Linked DNA regions of Homo sapiens: regions 1, 2, 3, 5, 6 and 7 are each linked to region 4. Evidence: promoter capture Hi-C in 16 types of primary human blood cells and fetal thymus (Javierre and others, 2016). All regions are on one chromosome and are shown on one strand. The core of a region is centred on a gene start or on the middle of the fragment in contact, and the rest is flanking DNA. Distances in the headings are between cores, read along the strand shown.

The links. The method cuts DNA at HindIII sites, captures the fragments that hold promoters and counts their contacts. A CHiCAGO score of 5 or more calls a contact.
Region 1: a contact is called between a fragment that was not itself captured here and the fragment with the promoter of ARFGEF2 in region 4, in 3 of 17 cell types (total B cells, naive B cells and total CD4 T cells). The highest score is 7.5, in total B cells.
Region 2: a contact is called between a fragment that was not itself captured here and the fragment with the promoter of ARFGEF2 in region 4, in 1 of 17 cell types (M0 macrophages). The highest score is 5.4, in M0 macrophages.
Region 3: a contact is called between a fragment that was not itself captured here and the fragment with the promoter of ARFGEF2 in region 4, in 2 of 17 cell types (naive B cells and naive CD8 T cells). The highest score is 5.3, in naive B cells.
Region 5: a fragment that was not itself captured here is called in contact with the fragment with the promoter of ARFGEF2 in region 4 in 1 of 17 cell types (M0 macrophages); the score reaches 6.3 in M0 macrophages.
Region 6: a fragment that was not itself captured here is called in contact with the fragment with the promoter of ARFGEF2 in region 4 in 4 of 17 cell types (naive B cells, naive CD8 T cells, naive CD4 T cells and 1 more); the score reaches 10.7 in naive B cells.
Region 7: a fragment that was not itself captured here is called in contact with the fragment with the promoter of ARFGEF2 in region 4 in 1 of 17 cell types (total CD4 T cells); the score reaches 6.2 in total CD4 T cells.

The regions. Positions count from the first base shown.
Region 1 is chr20:47,679,687-47,682,386 of GRCh38, reverse strand. The region is part of intron 7 of SULF2 (sulfatase 2); the gene reads left to right. Among named protein-coding and RNA genes, the nearest start is that of SULF2, 100 kb to the left of the region's middle. The HindIII fragment of the contact is 5,426 bases long and covers 1-2,700 here.
Region 2 is chr20:47,771,296-47,773,995 of GRCh38, reverse strand. All of the region lies in intron 1 of SULF2 (sulfatase 2), which reads left to right. Among named protein-coding and RNA genes, the nearest start is that of SULF2, 13 kb to the left of the region's middle. The HindIII fragment of the contact is 1,873 bases long and covers 342-2,214 here.
Region 3 is chr20:47,628,894-47,631,593 of GRCh38, reverse strand. All of the region lies in intron 8 of NCOA3 (nuclear receptor coactivator 3), which reads right to left. It also overlaps the pseudogene LOC100419565. Among named protein-coding and RNA genes, the nearest start is that of NCOA3, 130 kb to the right of the region's middle. The HindIII fragment of the contact is 2,644 bases long and covers 11-2,654 here.
Region 4 is chr20:48,920,441-48,923,140 of GRCh38, reverse strand. ARFGEF2 (ARF guanine nucleotide exchange factor 2) reads right to left here and starts at 1,430. Exons shown (of 39, transcript NM_006420.3): 1 at 1,131-1,430. The coding sequence starts at 1,251. RefSeq lists an enhancer at 720-799 and silencers at 1,170-1,219, 1,260-1,359, 1,590-1,669. The HindIII fragment of the contact is 17,186 bases long and covers 1-2,700 here.
Region 5 is chr20:47,755,075-47,757,774 of GRCh38, reverse strand. It overlaps SULF2 (sulfatase 2), which reads left to right. Exons shown (of 21, transcript NM_001387048.1): 2 at 312-586. The coding sequence starts at 412. Among named protein-coding and RNA genes, the nearest start is that of SULF2, 29 kb to the left of the region's middle. RefSeq lists an enhancer at 1-381. The HindIII fragment of the contact is 5,711 bases long and covers 1-2,700 here.
Region 6 is chr20:47,648,669-47,651,368 of GRCh38, reverse strand. NCOA3 (nuclear receptor coactivator 3) reads right to left here. Exons shown (of 23, transcript NM_181659.3): 19 at 2,260-2,364; 20 at 93-387. Among named protein-coding and RNA genes, the nearest start is that of SULF2, 140 kb to the left of the region's middle. RefSeq lists enhancers at 1,781-2,498, 2,499-2,700. The HindIII fragment of the contact is 339 bases long and covers 1,208-1,546 here.
Region 7 is chr20:47,695,749-47,698,448 of GRCh38, reverse strand. The region is part of intron 4 of SULF2 (sulfatase 2); the gene reads left to right. Among named protein-coding and RNA genes, the nearest start is that of SULF2, 88 kb to the left of the region's middle. RefSeq lists an enhancer at 483-987. The HindIII fragment of the contact is 3,796 bases long and covers 1-2,700 here.

The DNA.
Region 1 (2,700 bases), core at 1-2,500, 1.2 Mb after region 4:
TTATGGAGGCTGGCTCAAATGAGGTTTTTGAAAAGCAGATGTGTTGCTATTAAGACTGTCATTTGGTCTGCCTTCTGCTCATGCCCAGATGTGGGAACACACACCCAGCACTCACACAGGGCTGGCTGCGGAATTCCTCCTGAAAAGGCGTTGACAGTGCAGTGTGGAATTCCAGACTGACATGTTCCCACTGCCTTGGACATTTTGCGAGAATTCCAGGAGGCAGGCTGCATGAGTTCAAGGCCAGAGAAAGTGATGACTGACTGTTGACCTTATCAGATCACGCCCGTCTTTGGCTCTTAGCGTCCCCATTGGACTAAGAGCTGTAATAACGACAGTCCACACGTATGGAGTGTCTACTCTTCAGGGCCTGGTCTAAGAACTACATAATAATTCATTGCAAGCCGGGCCCTGTGGCTCATGCCTGTAATCCCAGCACTTTGGGAGGCCCAGGTGGGCAGATCATTTGAGGTCAGGAGTTCAAGACCAGCCTGGCCAACATGGTGAAACCCTGCCTCTACTAAAAATACAAAGATTAGCTGGACATGGTGGCGTACACCTGTAATCCCAGCACTCAGGAGGCTGAGGCAGGAGAATCGCTTGAACCTGGGAGGTGGAGGTTGCAGTGAGCCGAGATCATGCCACTGCACTCGTCTGGGCGACACAGTGAGACTCCATCTCAAAAACAATTAATAATTCGTTTCAGCATCACAACTGCCCTGTGACGTGGATGCTCATAGTAGCCCCATTTTACACCCAAGGCCACTGAGGCACGGAGAGGTTAAGTTGCCTGAGTTTACAGCAAGTAAGGGAAGGGGCTGGGGCTTGAAACCAGGCAGTCTCTATTCCCATCTGCCACGCCTCTCAGAAACTTCAAACCATCCCTGTGAACAGAAAGAATCTGACCCACTGAGGGCTCTACAAACACTGACATTGGGGGTTTGGTCAGCCTCGGAATCTGTGATCTGACTCATAGGGCCCAAAACCACATCCCACATGGTCAAGAAAAAGAGAGTGCTCATGTCAGGTTTGGGACCAAAGACACACGGTATCTGTCAGCCAGGACTCCTTTGGTTGCAAGCAGAAATGACCTTTGAACCAGATAAGGCATGTAAGATAAAAGGAACACAGTAACTATAGTTACTGAAAAGTCCATGCACAGCTCCAGCCTCAGGCATGGCTGGATCCAGCAGTCTTACAATGCCATTGGAAAGCTCTCATTTCTTATCTCTCAGTCCCACTTCCGCCGAATTGGCTTCATTCTCAGGTGGGTTTTTCTCCTTGTGGCAGGGTCAGCAGCTCCAGATTTTCAGCCATCCTGTTTAGGAAGCCAAACTGCTTTGAACAGAAGACCTGAGGCTGACTCCCACTGGCCTGACTTAGGTCACGTGTCCTTCCCTGAACCATTCACTGTAGCCAGAGGTGACAGAAACCCTTGAGTAACCAGGCTGAGTACATTGGGCAGGGGACTCTGAATGGGGCCAGGTAGTTCCTACAGAATTAGAAGCTGTGACACAGAGCAAGGCATTGGTGCTGGCCAGGAAAAGCAACCACTGTCCTCCTTCCCCTGAGCCTGGGGGAGCGGGACCACTGGACAAGCTCAGCCCCATTAGCTGCCGGTTGCTGGGTTCTGCAGAGCGCCCGTCGCTCAGCAGTCTTCCCAGCTCCCTCGCCTCTGGATTCAGTTGTAGCGCCTCACGCTGGCCTTCGAGCCCCCCATGACACAGCCCCATCTTCAGCAGCTGCACACATGCTTGGCAGCCTGCCCGACGTTCACAGGGCACTGGACTGGGGAGAGATGAGGGGTTAAAGATGACGGAAACCCTAGGACCCAGGCCCTGCCCTGGTCCCCAGGGAACTAGCGGGGAAGGCACTCAGATGCTCTGACGGGACTGTCCACCATTCAACAGGTCCTGGGTCCTGTGCTGGGCACACCCCTTAAGTCCCTTACCCTACATTGGGAATGCCATCAGCCAGAAACAAGAGCCAGGAGAGGTGGCTCATGCCTGTAATCCCAGCACTTTGGGAGGCTGAGGCGGATGTATCACCTGAGGTCAGGAGTTCAAGAGTAGCCTGGCCAACATGGTGAAACCCCACCTCTACTAAAAGTACAAAAATTATGGGTGTGATGGCGCATGCCTGTAATCCCAGCTACTCGGGAGGCTGAGGCATGAGAATCGCTTGAACCCAGGAGGTGGAGGTTGCAGTGAGCCAGGATCATGCCACCACACTGCATCCTGGGTGACAGAGCAAGACACCTCTCAAAAAAAGAAACAGGAGCCAGGAAAGGTGGCAGATGTATGGGAATTCACTTAGCCAATATTTACTGAGTAGCTCCTCTGTGTTCTAAGGGTATAAGTCCTGGAGATACAGAAGTGACCACCTGAGCCAGCCTTCCTGCAGCTTAGAGTCTAACTGGGCAATAGACAATAAGCCAGAGAAATAAGTAAATTATATAGCATATGAGATGGTGATAAGTCTTCAGGAGAAAGATAAAGCAGGGAGGGTGGGGAGGGGGCGCAGTTCCGAATAGGGTCCTCAGGAGGGGCCTTGTGTTGGGTATCTGTGCTGCAGAACAAACTGCCACAAACTCAGCAGCTTAAGACAACACACATGTACAAACTCACAGTGTCTGAGGGTCAGAAGCCTGGGCCTAGCCCTGCAGGGTCGTCTGCTTAGGCTGAAATCAAGGTGCCGGCC
Region 2 (2,700 bases), core at 29-2,528, 1.1 Mb after region 4:
ACGCTCGCCTGTGGATTGGGTGAAAAGGAAAGAAGTAATTGGATTATTAATACCAAGCCGTCAAAATACCTTTTATTCCTTTTATATTCTTCTGGAAGGAAACGACAATCTCTGGAAACATAAATACATGTTCTGTGGGGGTAAGCAGGGCTAAGAAAATGTGGGGCTGAAAAGGAGGAGGGGGTTAAAAAGGTGGAATTGTCAGTCCCCACTGTGGCAGTCTACACTGAGAACCAGCCCACAGTTAGGCGTGAATAATGACTCTGTTCAAGTCGGACTTTATTGCTTTTGGCCAAAGGCCTTTTGCAGAAATAACTTTGTAACTCCCTGCCAGGGAAGCTTTTGTCCACAGCTGAGACAAAGGAACAAAGAACAGAGGTGGGAATTTCTGTATCTGATTTCTACTTCCTCTAAACAGCCAGAAAGGACAGCGGGTGTGGCCTGCCCAGAAGGCATGGGCTGGGGCAAAGGGGTGTCCAGCCTCCTGTGGGCCACACTGCCGTGCTCGGCTGCACCATGTTGGTTTCATTGTGCACATTCCCACCCCAGGGCCTTTGCACTTACTTCCTCCGTTCATAGAAAGCATTTTGCCCACAACTGGCTTCTCGCCCGCCTCTGCTCTCAGCTCAGATGCCATTTCCTTATGCCACCTCCTCATGCCAGAGAGGCCTTTCCCAATTTACTGTCCATCCTATCACCTGACAGCTTCCTCCAAAGCTCTTAAGACAATCTTCATTCATTCATTTTCTCCTCCACCAAGGTATCACAGCTCCATGAGGACAGAGGCCTGGCCTGCCTTGTGGCCACTGCTGTTTCTTAGCATGTGGCACATAGTAGGTGCTCAGGAAAGATTGGATAGCTTGGAAGAGTCGCACATAGCTCCCAGGCCAAGCTCCAGCGGGGCTTTATGGAGCCCGCTCAGTGCTTAAAATAGGTTGAAAGTTTTTACTTTGGAAATGGTGTTTCCGGTGTAGTCCAGGCGCCACCCCATCTCTATCCTAAATCTAGGCCACTTTACTCACTCAGGTCTCCTGCCCGACCCTTGGATGCATTTGCATATTTGTCCCTGCTTTAGACAAAGGCCACTGCAAACATATCTCTCTCCAAAGGTCACCAGACAACATCCAGACTTCTTGCATTGCCAAGTCTTGTGCCAGACCGGTGGCCTCCACCAACCAGGTCCCATTGACTGGATCAAGGTGTAGTCTTCATCTTAGCCGTCCACGCACAGGGCGTAAGTGGCGTTGATCTCATCATAAGCAGGTCATGGCAGGAGGAGGGTCGGGCAGGAGACCTGAGTGAGTGAAGTGGCCTAGATTCAGGATAAGAGACGGGGTAGGGCCTGGACTACATTGGAAATGCCATTTCCAACGTAAAAACCTTTAACTTTTCCTTTTTCCCCTTTTCCTTTTCTGCTCTCCTCCAAGCCTCTGGGTCATCAAGGAGGGAATCGCGTGAACTCCTCCTTTATGGTCTTCAAGGAGACCTACTCCCAATGTAAGGGGAAGCGCAGAGGCCTTGGCAAGCAAGAATGTAACCACAATGTCATTGCCTTTATACTGTTGCCATCTAAGTATGGCAGGGGTTCTCACCTAGGGGCAGTTTTGCCCCCTAGGGGGACATTTGGCAGTGTCTGGAGATATTTTTGATTGTCACAACTGGGGTAGGTGCTACTTGCATCTCATGGACAGAGGCCTGTGAACACCCTGTGATACACAGCACAGTCCCCCATCGAAGAATGATCCTGCCCACGCGGCAGTAATGCCAAGGTTGAGAGACCCAGGTTTATGGCAATGGGTGCTGGTTCCTCCAAGATAGACTTTTCTTTCTAAATAAATTTATTGAAATAAGAAAGGGAATGAATGAATGAATTTAGGCCCAGATTTGGGTATTCTACTTATACCAGACTTTTAAAAATTCATTTATTTATTCTGAGACGCTGGCATATGGGATGGAGCACAGAGGTTAACGATCAGCCCTGTCATCCCTTTCGGAGCAGATCAGGCTGTACCATTTGCCTCAAATCAGGAGCCCCTGCCCTGGAAGCTGCCATCTTGCCAGAAACTTCCTGGGGAGCTGCCTGTAAAAAACTCTAGCAGCAGTTGATTCTGGCCCAGGTGGAAAAGCTGTGTTATCCCAGGCGGAGTTCCGGCAGGTTGGGAGATGTTTCCAGGTCTCCTGCCCAGCCAGGCATGATGAGCATCCTTCCAAGCTTGGCCCCGGAGCCCTGGCCCAGCACCCCCATTTGAAGCCTGCAGAGCCTCATCATCACTGCCCCCGCCCCCGCCCCATCCTGCCACTGACAAGCCAATACCTGCCTGATGAGAGGGGCTCCCAGGGACAGCAGCCTTCCCTCCTGGACTCCAGGGCAACCTCCATGTTGTTGGGCGGCTTTGAGCACAGGGCTCAAGGGCAGAGGCTGAGTTGGAAAATTTCTTGCCTCTGCAGAAGGGAAGAGCTGGGGGAGGTTGGGGCCTTTTTCCCCAAACGAGGTCTTATTCTTCTGTGGGGTTTTCTGGGTTTGTTAGGTGGCTTCCTTTCTACTTAAAAATAAGCTGGGAGTGGTTAAAAAATGGGAAGAAATCAATGTTTCTGGCGTACATAGAACTGAGCAGATGTGTTATCTAGAATAAGGAGGAGAGGTTGTTGTGACTCTAGCTCCTGGTACGAGCCCTTCAGTTCACCCTCCTGCCCTGCTCA
Region 3 (2,700 bases), core at 83-2,582, 1.3 Mb after region 4:
GCTGGAAGCTTCTGACAACTTTTGCTTAATATCAAATACAATGGAGACACCAAATATACATACTCAAAAATACTATGAAATTAAAGAAGGTTTCATGACAATAGATGGTCCTTAAAAACTGTCTAGGCCTTTTCACTCTAAGCAGCACTAGGGTGGTTGGCAAAAGCAAGTGCCTTACAAAAAGTGGCAGAATGGGAGCAAAGAAGAAAGTGGTTAATCCATTTCCTAAAAAAGACTGATATGATGTGAAAGCACCAGCTGTGTTTAATTGGTAACAAACTAGTCAAAAGGGCTCAAGGAACCAAAACTGCATCTGATGGCCTCAAGAACTGTGTTTTTGAAATGAACCTTGCTGATCTGCATAATGATGAAACTGCCCTTAGAAAATTCAGACTAATTACTGAGGACATCCAGGTCAAAAACTATGTGACCAGCTTCCATGGCTGGTCTTGGATCAGCTTTCAGGCCTTTTCTATGTCTTTGAATGCAGACAGAATGATCCAAGCCATAATAACTGGTCACACAGTTTTTGACCTGGACATCCTCAGTAATCTTTTCTGTGACAAAATATGCTCCATGGTTAAACATGGCAGACTTCATAGGAAGCTCCTGCTGATGTCAAGATTGCCAATAGTTATCTGTTTTGTATAGGTTTTACTAAGAAATGCAATAATCAGACTTGGGCAATCTCTTATGCTCAGCACCAACAGATATGCCAAATCCCAATGATGATGGAAGTTGTGACCCAAAAGGTACAGACAAATAACTTGAAAGAAGTGGGCAATAAACTGACTCCAGACAAATTAGGAAAGACATTGAAAAGGCTTGCCCAGGCCAGGCGCGGTGGCTCGTGCCTGTAATCCCAACACTTTGGGAGGCCGAGGTGGGTGGATCATGAGGTCAGGAGTTCGAGACCATCCTGGCTAACATGGTGAAACCCCATCTCTACTAAAAATACAAAAAATTAGCTGAGTGTGGTGGCACATACCTGTAGTCCCAGCAACTCGGGAGGCTGAGGCAGGAGAATGGTTTGAACCCGGGAGGCAGAGGTTGCAGTGAGCCGAGATCTCGCCACTGCACTCCAGCCTGGGCAACAGAGCGAGACTCCGTCTCAAAAAAAAAAAAAAAAAAAAAAAGTCTTGCCCATATATTTATCCTTTCTATGACATATTCATTAGAAAACATACTGAAGAAAACCAAGTTTGGTTTGGGAAAACTCATGGGGCTTCATAGTGAAAGGTAATTCTGCAAAAGCTACTGGAGATTTAAAAGGCACTAATATTGAATAAGCTGACAGAAATAAACCACCAGTCCAATAATCTGTTTAAAATTCAGAATTTTAATGGTGACCAAAAATCTTATTAGTAGCAGGGGGAGACTAGGGAAAAGGGATAAACGCATTCTGGGAAAGAGTAAATACCTGTGCACTCGTGCCCAAAATAGACATGATTTGTCCTCAACCACCTCTCCTGAGTTTAGCCCTGGGCCACATGACAAATACAAAACAGATGTCCATAAAAAGTTTATTAAATGAAACACATCAGGGACAGAAGATAAAATATCCCCAGAGGTCAAAAGTAAGTAGGATCTCAGTTTTAAATGATGTTAATCACACAAAGCATTTGATCTTTCTTGCTTGGCAATTTTTTTCTCCATCATGTCCTGTTTTCTTTCATGCTTGGTAATTTCTAACTTTTATAATAAACATGTATCACTTTTATATACTGATGAGATAATTTTCAAAGATGCTACTTGCTAAATTGCTTAAAGATATTTTATTTAGTATCTTCAGTAGCAAATGTAAAACATGGCTATTCAAGTAGAAAATTAACACTGCCAAATCATAAGAGGTGCAGAGAAAGACTCACTCTAAAAGGATAAAATAATATATAACAATTGCTGTCACTATGTTTATCTGAGGGGAGTTAATACAGAGAAAATGTTCAAATATAAAGTAACATACAGCCGGGCATGGTGGCTCATGCCTGTAATCCCAACACTTTGGGAGGCCGAGGCAGGCGGATTACCTGAGGTCAGGACTTTGAGACCAGCCTGACCAACATTGTGAAACCCTGTCTCTACTAAAAATGTAAAAAATTAGCCAGGCGTGGTGATGGGCGCCTGTAATTTCAGCTACTCGGGAGGCTGAGGCAGGAGAATCACTTGAACCCAGGAGGCAGAGGTTGCAGTGAGCTGAGATCATGCCATTGCACTCCAGCCTGGGCACGACAGAGCAAAACTCCGTCTCAAAAAAAAAAAAAAGTAACATCCATCAGCGTAAACAAGATTATACTGTGAATTGTCAAAATAATCCTTTGCTACTTTTAATTGTGAAAATTAATCTCAAAAATCCTGAAGATAGGTTACTGATGGCATAAAATGATTGAATGACTGCAAAAATAGCAATATTTCTTTAAAAATATTCTGCATTATGTATATTATATATACATATTACAAACACACACATACATATGTAATAGTGATAGCTATGTTTTATGTATACCTACTCCATTTTTATATCACTTGTTAAAAGTCCACATTGTAAAATTAGTGTTACACAAAGCAAAGAATACAGGCTAAGTCAGGCAGACTCAGCTATAAATTTTCTTATTAGCCATGATCTTGGACAATAACCCAATCTCTGTCACCAAGCTTCTGTTTCTTTATCTCTGAGATGGGGCATATATGACAAACCCTTGG
Region 4 (2,700 bases), core at 181-2,680:
AAACTCCATATGGTGGATAGTTCTTGCCTTTCAGTATTCAGCTCAAGTGTCACCCTCTTGGAAAAGATTACTTTCCTGACCACCTGATTACTTTTCCTCTTGGAAAAGATTACTTTCCTGACCATGGAAAGCAGTCCTCAAGCCCTCTTTATCACATCTTGCTGTTTTATTTTCAAAATAGTATTTATCAGTATTCCAAAATACCTCACCTATTTTCTTAATTAATTATTTTGTCTCCTCTATTCGAGTATAAGCTCCATAGGGGTAAGGACCATGTCCGTCTTGTTCCCCACTGAATTCTCAGTACCTGGTATGCAGTGGGCACTTGATAAATATTTGTTAAATGATTAAAACTGAAAGATAGGATAGTGATTTTGCTATCAATTATCAAGCCTTTAACTATTAGTTAGAATTCTCCCTCTTTCCATAATCTGAGGGTCCATTCAATCAGCAAATATTTATCGAGCACCTACTGTGCGCCAGGCACTGTTGCAAGCGCAAGGGATACAGCAATGAATAAGTCAGACAAGTATCTTCGCGCTGAAGACCTTGTATTTTAGTGGACTGCTAGGAATAAGCAGATGTCTTGCTCACTACAATGCCTGGGAGATCCAGAACACCTTCTACAATCCTTCCTTGAGGGAAAGAGCTATGGGAGATCCCCAAACCAAAGGAAAACATTCTCCAACGGGCACTTCCAAAACAAGAATCAGGGGTTTCCCTAAACCAGTTGGACGGCTCTTCCTACATGCTCTGTTCACCTAGGGGAACCCCAATCAGCAGAGCTCAGGTAACGAAAAAACTTGGGGCAAGGGCTACTGTTTCTAGGACTTGGAGGTGGTGAGGGGAGGAACCAGGAAACAGGGCGACAAGGAATCGTGGCAAAAGCCCTGAGCTGGAACCCTGAGGAACAAGCTCTGGTTGTCACCAACTTGCTAGGTGACCTTGGGCCAGTCCCGAGCTGCCCGGGCAACACTTCCTCCGGGGGTATAATGAGGAGGAGGCCGGAAGGGTGGAATTCGGGATCGGGGGGAAGCGGAGGCCAGGAGGCCGGGCCAAGGCCGAGTAGGATAGGGCAACGGCCGACGTGCTGAGGCCAGCGCGGGGCAGGGCGGGAGCGGCTCACCCACCGAGCGCCACCTGGCAGGCCCTGCGCAGCTGGGAGTGCTGGGGCCGCTTCACCTCCTTGTCGGCTAGGATCTTCTCCAGGGCCCGGGACACGAACATGCTCTTGGTCTGGCTCTCCTGCATGGCCCCGGCCCGGCGGGGGCTGACGGCCCCGCGGGCGGGCGGCGTGAGCGAGATGGCGAGCTAGGCTGCGGGCCCGGCGTCCCGGCCGGCACCGGCCGCGTCCGTCCGCGCCGCCCCGTCAGGAAGCGACACCTCGGCCCCACGGCGCCGCCATGTTGGAGCGCGTCACGTGACCACGTGACTGGCGAGGCCGCTACGGCCGCCTAGCGTCCGTCGGCCCCGTGACCCCCAGCGGGGCGGAGCCTAAGGCTGGGGGCGGAGCGGAGTCAGGTGGGCGAGAGACAGAAGGCGAGGGTGGAGGGTGGAAGAAGAGAAGGTGGGGAGGGGAGTGGGCATGGGCGAAGGGTATAGGGGACGCGGGGGCTAAAGAAAGGCGAAAGCGGGGAGAGGTGGTGATGGAGATGAGAGGAGAGAAGCGCAAGGTAACGGGAGGTGAAGGGGAGCACGAGAATGGAGATGACGTGGGTAAGAGAGGAGATGAGGAAAGGAAGGGGAACGAGAGGATTGGCAAAAAAGAACGGTGACAAGGAGAGATGATAAAGGGGCAGGAGGAGAAGGCGAGTAGGAAAGAAAAGAGGTGAGGGAGCGAGGACTGGAAGCTGGTGAATGAATGAGAAGTGATCGGGAGTAAGGGGCGTCAGGAGGAAGGAGGAAGGGCGATGAGAAGGCGGCGGCGGAGGGGAAGGGGGGAGGCCCGGCGCGGCGGCTCACGCCTCTAATCCCAGCGCTTCCGGAGGCCAAGGCGGGAGCATCGCTTGAGCCCAGGAGTTCGAGACCAGCCTGGGCAACATAGGGAGACCCTTTCTCTACAAAATAAAAAGTAAAACAGCCGGGCCTGGTGGCGCTGCTTGTGGTCCCAGCTACTGGGGAGGCTGAGGTGGGAGGATCGCTTGAGCCTCGGAGGTTGAGGCCGCAGTGAGCTGTGATGGCACCACTGCACTCCAGCCTGGGCCACAGAAGGAGACCCTGTCTCAAAAAACAAACAAACAAAAAGGAGGTGAGTTAGTTATGGAGGAGATGAGGTGGTGTGGGAAGAGGTGAGAGGGAGGCACAGAGGTAAAAGAAAAAGGAGAAAGACAGGAGGGAGAGGGGAAGTGAAAAGGAAAGAGAGGTAGAAATGAGAGGAGGGGAAAGAGTAGGAGAAAGGGTGAAGGGAGAGGAGGTAGGAAGGGGAGCTGTCAGGAAGAACAGAAAAGAAAGAAAAAGATGAGAGTAACAAGTTAGGAAAACAGGAAAGAGATGGAAAAAGGAATGGTGTAGGAAGGAGGTGAAGGGGAAGGAGGTGAGGAAGAGTGGAAAGAACATGCTGGGAGAATAGGAAATGGAAGGGGTGGAGGGAGAGGGGAGGTGAAAGGAAGACAGAGAGGGAGAGAGAGAAGGTGTGTTTATGTCTATTCTCCACAAGCAGGGTTTCACCACAGCCACTGGCAAGATACACACATCCATATG
Region 5 (2,700 bases), core at 26-2,525, 1.2 Mb after region 4:
GGATTATTCAGAGACGGCTGTTATCTGACTCGGGTCTTGGGCTGCCACCGACACATCAGAGGCTCACTGGATCCAGGGAAGAAATTGTTTCTGCAGAAGTGGCCACAGAAGGCTTTTCTGCCAGTCTGTTGACCAAGCAAACTGTAAAGACTTTGCTAACTTCAGCGGAGTTCGGTTTTCACTCTGCCATAGCCACCCCTGTTCAAAGAAACTCCCATTGTTCATGCCAGCCGCCATACAAATCATTATGCAAGAATGAGCAGCCGGCAGCCTTGACATAAATATTGACCTGATTCTTCCTCCTCCTCTAGATCTGCGAGTGAAGAGGGACGAGGGAAAAGAAACAAAGCCACAGACGCAACTTGAGACTCCCGCATCCCAAAAGAAGCACCAGATCAGCAAAAAAAGAAGATGGGCCCCCCGAGCCTCGTGCTGTGCTTGCTGTCCGCAACTGTGTTCTCCCTGCTGGGTGGAAGCTCGGCCTTCCTGTCGCACCACCGCCTGAAAGGCAGGTTTCAGAGGGACCGCAGGAACATCCGCCCCAACATCATCCTGGTGCTGACGGACGACCAGGATGTGGAGCTGGGTAAGCCTCGGGGCCCCAGGGTGGCACCTCGGCCCCTCGGAGCAGGGTCCCTGGGTTAGGCTGAGGCTCCTGAGGCAAGGCGGTGGTGTTGATGCGTCGTGCTCACTTTTGAGTACATTGAAACCAAGACACGGGCCACCCACACGTGTTTGGGGTCACAACTGGGTCCTCAAGGTTAGGGGTCTCTACCCTTCTCCAGTTGCACAACCGTTCCTGGATTTCTCCAAAGAGTTAAAGAGAACAGGCTGGGCGCTATGGCTCATGCTTGTAATCCCAGCACGTTGGGAGGCCGAGGCAGGTGGATCACCTGAAGTCAGGGGTTCGAGACCAGCCTGGCCAACGTGGTGAAACCCCGTCTTTACTAAAACTACAGAAATGAGCCAGGCATGATGGCGCACACCTGTAACCCCAGCTACTGAGGAGACTGGGGCACAAGAATCACTTGAATCCAGGAGAAGGAGGTTGCAGTGAGTGGAGGTCATGCCACTACACTCCAGCCTGGGTGACAGAGTGAGACTCTGTCTCAAAAAAAAAAAAAAAAGATGAGACATGAGCCTGGAGCCAAATTTTGGAGGCTCTTGTGGGTTGTGGCAAAGACTGTCAATCATTGATCCCGTGAAGGGTGATCCCTCAGCCTCTGTCCACTCTTAAAGGATAACAGCGTGTTGTTGGTGGCAACAAATGTGAAGGTTGACTAGGTTAGCCTTGACAACCTGAATTTGTCTTTTAGCTACCAGGAAAAGGCAATTTACATAAAACCAAGTTGTTCCTTGCAATGCTTTGTATTAATGATCACAAGTATAGTTTTTTTCCTCCGGGAGCTTCTCAGTGCAGAAAGAATTTGTAGCCAGGAAGCAATCAGAGCCCAGAGCTTTTATTGACAATTTGACACATAGGATACCTATCTCCTGGCAGCATTTAGAATGAGGCGCATTTGATAACTATGGGGAGTCTGCAGACTGTGGCCAGAGAGGTGTGTTTCGTTTCTTGAAGAATTTTGCAGAGGGGTCTTGCAGGCAGCACCTGGACCTCAGAGCTTCTTGGTCTCACATTGTGTAGCCCCGACGCTGTTTCGGCTATAGTCATGCTTAGAATTTCCGATGCCCTGCACGTTTGTTCATTCATCCAGCAGATGTTTATTACGCATTTGTTGCATTCAGTGCACTGTGTCAGGAGCCAGAGAACTAAGGGAGGCTCATTCCAGGTGAGGAGAACAGGAAATTCAAAGATACTGAGATAGAAATGGGCTCGGTGGTTTGGAGCAAAAAAAAAAAGTGCCAGGGAGCCGGAGTGGAGGGAGCTGGGGCCGTGATGGAGAGAGATGAAGCTGAGGAGCTGACTTGGCCCGGGTTGCACCAGGCCTTGTGGCCATGGTGGGGGCTTTGAGTTTGATTCTTAGTAAAATAGACATGGATGAGGGGGCCTTAAGAAGAGGAAGGCCGTGACCTCACTTAGGTTCTAACAGGATCCCCCAGCTCTTTTGATGAAATTAAATCGCAGGGGTAAGGGCAGAAACAGGACACTCATTCAGAGGCCGATGGGGTGATAGGGCAGTGATGATGGAAGCTCAGACCCGGGTGCTGAGATGCGGTCCCACCTGATGTATATTTGGGAAATAAACTGATCAATGGGTTAGGTATGTGGGTTATGGAAAAGATACGTTTCAAGGGCAGCCGCTAGATTTGGGGCCCGAATCAACAGGTGAGTGGCTGAATACCCACTCTTAGGAACAACACATTTTTGCAACATGATCCAGCTAAGTCTCATGTCTGAATCTGACTGAATTTTGCATCTGTGACTTGTGAATAAAACCAACAGTGTATGCAGATAAAAAGAAAGCAAAGGCATATGCAGATATAAGGAAACCAACAGCGTATGCAGATACAAGGAAACCAATAGCAGGTATGAAGTAGACACAGGAGAGAGGGGAACAAAGAAAGCCGTGGCTGACTTAAAATACAGAGATTTCTTCTCTCCATTTGACAGATGGAAAAACTGAGGCAGAGAGAAGTCACTTGTCCAAGTTTGCACAGCTAGAATGTGATTAAACATGATTTGAGCTGGGTGCAGTGGCTCACGCCTGTAATCCCAGCATTTTGGGAGCCTGAGGATCA
Region 6 (2,700 bases), core at 128-2,627, 1.3 Mb after region 4:
TGTTTTTGTCTTTCATGTGCAATAAATGTAATGAAGCTTATGTCCTTAGTAATGTTAACTTGGGGAAGGCACATTTTCATTGTCAGATTTACCATAATTTGGTTGATATGGAAACTGTTGCGGAGGAGCTTGTGGCATTGTGGGTCCTGCCAAAAGCCCATCCATGCTGGGGGAAGCAGTCACATTAGGAGGTGGGCTGAAGGCCTGGGTTTGCTGCTGTTGCTGCTGTTGCTGTTGCTGTTGCTGTTGCTGCTGCTGCTGCTGCTGCTGCTGCTGTTGCTGCTGCTGCTGCTGCTGCATCATCATAGCCACCCTCTGTTGTCGGAAGTGATGACTTAGCAGCTCTCTGCTGCGTTGGGCGACCATTTGAGCATTAAGAAAACCCTGCTAATACCCAAGAAAGAGTGCAATTACATATATATAGCAAGAACCTGCCAGTTGCATACATATAGTACCCCCACAATACACCAGGTATAAGACAGAAAACACCCAGGGCCTTCTTTTTTTTAACAGGGTCTCACTCTGTCGCCCAGGCTGGAGCGCAGTGGCACAATCTCGCCTCACAGCAACCTTCGTCTCCCAGGTTCAAGTGAGTCTTCTGCCTCAGCCTCCCAAGTAGCTGGGATTACAGGCGTGCACCACCACTCTGGCTAATTTTTGTATTTTTAGTAGAGATAGTGCTTCACCATGTTAGCCAGGCTGGTCTCAAACTCCTAACCTCAGGTGATCCGCCCACCTCGGCCTCCCGAAGTGCTTAAATTACAGGTGTGAGCCACTGTGCCGGCCAAAACATACAATTCTTCACATAAAAGCTTTCTGACCTGGTGCAGTGGCTTACGCCTGTAATCCCAGCACTTTGGGAGGCCAAGGTGGGCGGATCACTTGAGGTCAGGAGTTCGAGACCAGCCTGGCCAAAATGGTGAAACCCTGTCTCTACTAAAAATACCAAAACTAGCCAGCCTTGGTGATGAGCACCTGTAATCCCAGCTACTCAGGAGGCTGAGGCAGGAAAATCCCTTAAACCCAGGGAATTGACGCTGCAGTGAGCCGAGATCGTGCCACTGTACTCCAGCCTGGGCAACAGTGACTCTCAAAAAAAAAAAAAAAAAGCTTTCTGGCTATTGCAAGGGGAGGGAGGGAGAACTGAAGAAGAGGGACCTGAAAATTATTTGGGGTTAAAAGACAAAAGACAACACACTGTCAAGCTTTAACATGACTAGAAACATTCCACAAAGTAAGAAAACATTTAGGGGTGGAATCTGAGGACAAATTTTTCAGGAACTATGAAAGACAATTACAGGAAAATGAGGATTCAGTGTGTTGGGGTGGTGGAGGGCTGAAACATGAAGCCAAAAAAAATAAGATGGGGTTATACTCAGATAAGCAGGGGTCCACCTCAGAAAATCTTGAACTTTCTTTAAACTTTCAGAAAGAGGTAAGGGGCAAGCAGAAGCTATCTGGAGGTTCAGAAGGTGACATAACTGAAGTACAACAAGGAAGCTGATTTCAGCTCTACTAGCTACGGGTCATCTCCAAAAAGCAAGCTTTTATCATCTTTCTGTAGGACATTCTAGCTCAGCTTCCACAAGATGTTTTATTATCAAGAAAATGTAAATATCAGTACTTCCAAGTAGGCATAAGACAATAAAAATCGAGCATTTCACAGTTGCTTTTTAAAAAACAATTATAAACGATATTTCAAATCACAATAGAGGATTGCTGTGTGGTCATCTGCCTCATGCACATTAAAAAAACCCCTCAATACTGTCTCCACCACTGGCTGGAAGTAGAAGGGAATTTTAATATCCCCTCCTACTACAAGAAACAGGTCATCTCAGAGGCTATCACTGAGAACAGGATTATGTATTCTTTATTTTCTTCTTTATAATTTCAGAATTTTACCCAGTGTGCATGTTGTTTCATAATCCAGGAACAGAGGAACATTTACAGATTTATTAAATTCCTAAACAGCCAAGTGATAGCTGTTCTCACAGTACAGCAACTGATCACAAAGGGAACCAATTAAAAAAACACTAATCGATGGTTTTAATGAAGAAAGCTCTCCCTCCTCTGATTCCTCCCAGTCACCAGCCAGAGAGAAGAATGGAAGAGTCGAAAGTCTTTAATGCGACTGCTTTCTTACACAAGAAATTCAGAATTACCTTCATTTGTTTAACAAACATTTACTGAGAGCCAACCACAGGCCAAGCCCTGTCCTGAGCACAGAGCAATGCATGTGGAGAGGCTTATCATCCTCACCTGGGAGCTCACCTGGGGCTGCATCATAGGCCTCATCACCGCAGCACCACCAGCAGTAGGGTTTTCCATTTTCAATTCAAGTGCCTGTCGGCTCTGATTCAAAAACTGAGGTGAGACAAGTTGGTTAGAATGCAAGCAGAGCACGTCAGTCTGCCAAAACAGCTTTCCAGACCCTCAGCACCAGCCAATGAGGTAATATCTCCAAACACAATAACCTGGCTAAGTCACGTCTAAACTGAACCAGTACTTTCACACTGCAAAAAGGTCAATGTTGAAAAGTCTTTGGCTAGCATATGATGGGCTACTGTTTGGCACTGGGGAAAAAAAAGTAAAGTGCAATTTTGCAGCTTAAAGAATATCTTCACACCTGTAATCCCAGCACTTTGAGAGGCTGAGGTGGGCAGATCACTTGAGCCCAAGAGTCTGAGATCAGTCTGGGCA
Region 7 (2,700 bases), core at 26-2,525, 1.2 Mb after region 4:
AGTCTCTTTCCCAGGAGTCCCAGAGAGTCTCAGTGCATCTCATTGGCTCTGGATCAGTCCCATGTCTGTCCCTGAGCCAATCAGAGTGGCCAGGAGGATGCCTGGTTCCCTGGACTATAAGTCACATGCTCCACTCCTGAGCCAGACATGGGGGTAGCAGGAGCTCTACGCTGGAACGTTGGCTGGGAATAGAGCCCCAAATAAGAATGGAGTTTCCACCAGGAGAAGGCTGACTAGGTGCTCAACGGCCAAAAAACACTCTGTCCCACTTCTGTTCTGGAAACCCCGGCACACATGGAGATCCCTCTGCCTCCGACAGGTCATCCTGGGCTCCCTGTAAGTCTGATGGGTCCAGGCCCAAGTGGCAGAAGCCGCCCCCGGCCTGCCCTCAAGTCTCATTCTGCACATAGTAGGCCTCCAGCCTCCCAAGTGAATTAATTCCAAAGTTCTGATGAGGCAGTCCGGCATGGACTCCTTGGAATATAAATTCCAGTCCCAGGGCTAAGCACGCTGTTTCCCTCCTCCCAGCCTCAGTGCAGGCGGATTCTCTAAATATCCTGAAAAATACATTCCCTCCTTTTTAAAATTCTTCACCACATCCACGCCTCATCTCAGAGCAGCCCGATAATCAAGTTATCCCGGGGTGCTCAGGATTCTTTTGGGGCTAAGCATGGGGACATAGAACGTCCGTCCTTTTGCCCTGTTTCCTGCCCACACACATCTCCCCCTGTGAATGAGAACAGCCCTGTGAGGGAGGCGTGAGAGGATTCCTGGCCCCCCAGTTACCAGGGGCCTGGGAACAGAGATGCTCTAACAGGGACGTGGGCAGAGGGCGGGGCGGTGAAGTCAGAACTGGCTCAGGTCCAGGGTTCAAATCCTGAGGGTAGCAGTGGGCAGCAGGAGCCCAAGCGTCAAGGGAACAGGGGTGAGCCCGGGGTTTCCAGCCAAGGCAGAGCTCAGGAGCCCTGTGCCCTGGGCCCTAGATCAGGCAGTAAGATGCCTCTGGCAAGGCAGAATGTCACTGCTGGCCTCGGGCGGGCCTTGTTGGGAGGCCCAGGCAGGGAGGAAGCGGCAACCCTTCGTAAGCCCCCCTCAGAAGGCCTCTGAGGACTCTGTCCCAAGTCACTAATCCACAGATGGGCACATGCCACCAAAGGGGTCCAGATGTCAAGGGCAGAAAGAGAGGCAGTGGTGATGAGAAAAGAGTGATACAGGACAAGCGCTAATGGCAGAAGAGGGTTGGAGAGGGGAAGACAGTTGTTAGTGGGAAGGGAAGTGAGAATGACCTAGAGTTGAGTCCACCCGAAAAGAGGCTTCCAGGTAGCTGGCAAAAGTGGGCCTGGGTGTTGGGTGGCTCTGCAGGGAGGTGATGGCAGTGCACGGCCAGTGTGGGGGCGACCTGGCAGATTCTATGAACTTCATGTGCCCCGCCCCTTGCCGCAGCGTGTACACTTCTCTGTCTATCTGGAGAAGCCTCAGTCATAGGCAGGAGACGGCGTGATGGAGCAGCTGGTTGTAGCTCTGTTTATTACTGAAAGAAATTAGCAAAGTCCACCAATACACGAAATAACTAAATGACCGTGAAGCATCCCTCCTCTGGAAGATCCTCGGCAAAGGATGAGGCCGGTCTGCCTTATGTCCTGAGCCCATCAGGCAGAGTGGGAAAAGCAAGTTCCAGAACTCCTGAGGTCCTTATTCAAATGTCACCTCACTTTAGCCTTCCTGGACCACCTTGTATAAGGGCACCCCCACCACACTCCTTACTGCAACAAATCACCATCTGGTGCATTACACCCTGTGTATATTACTGATTCATTTGTTAAGTATCTGTCTCTTCTCATAAGAATATAAGCCCCATGAAGGCAGGAATGCTCATTTGTTTTGTTCACTGCTGTATTTGTCAGATAGATAAATGAATATGTACAGTATGATGTGATTAATAATATAAAAAGATGCATAAAGTGATACTATAATGTACCTAACAAAACACTGGAAAGGTTATTCCCAGTAGGGGACAGAAGAGCCAAGGTTATGGGGGTGGGGGGGTGGTAAGGAGTAATCTAATCAAATGAGACTTCACTGTCCTTTGTACTATTTTAATTTTCACAAAGAAAATGTAGGCATATGGTTCTTGAGGAATAATGACTAACACTCATTTAGACATACCATGTACCAGATACTGTTTGAATCATTTTACACAAATTAACCCATGCATTTCTCATCATAGTCTGTGAGGTATATACTGTGTCTATTCCCAACTGTCAGATGAGAAAACTGAGGCCCAGAGAGGCTAAGTAATGTAACCGGGCCACATAGCCTAGTAAGTGATAAAGCAGAATTCGAACCCAGGCCATCTGGCTTCAAAGTCCATGCACTAAACCACAGCCCGTGGGCCCAGACTGGTGGTTTTTGTATGGCCCCTGAGCTAAGAATGGTTTTTACATTTTCAACTAATTGAAGAAACAATCAAAAGAAGAGCATTTTTCACATGGTATATACAAAAATGAATGTCATTCAGCCTTTAAAAAGGAAATCCGGCCAGGCGCAGTGGTTCATGCCTGTAATCCCAGCACTTTGGGAGGCCAAACCAGGCGGATCACTTGAGGCCAGGAGTTCGAGACCAGCCTGGCCAACATGGGGAAACCCCATCTCTACTAAAAATACAAAAATTAGCTGGACATGGTGGCACATGCCTGTAGT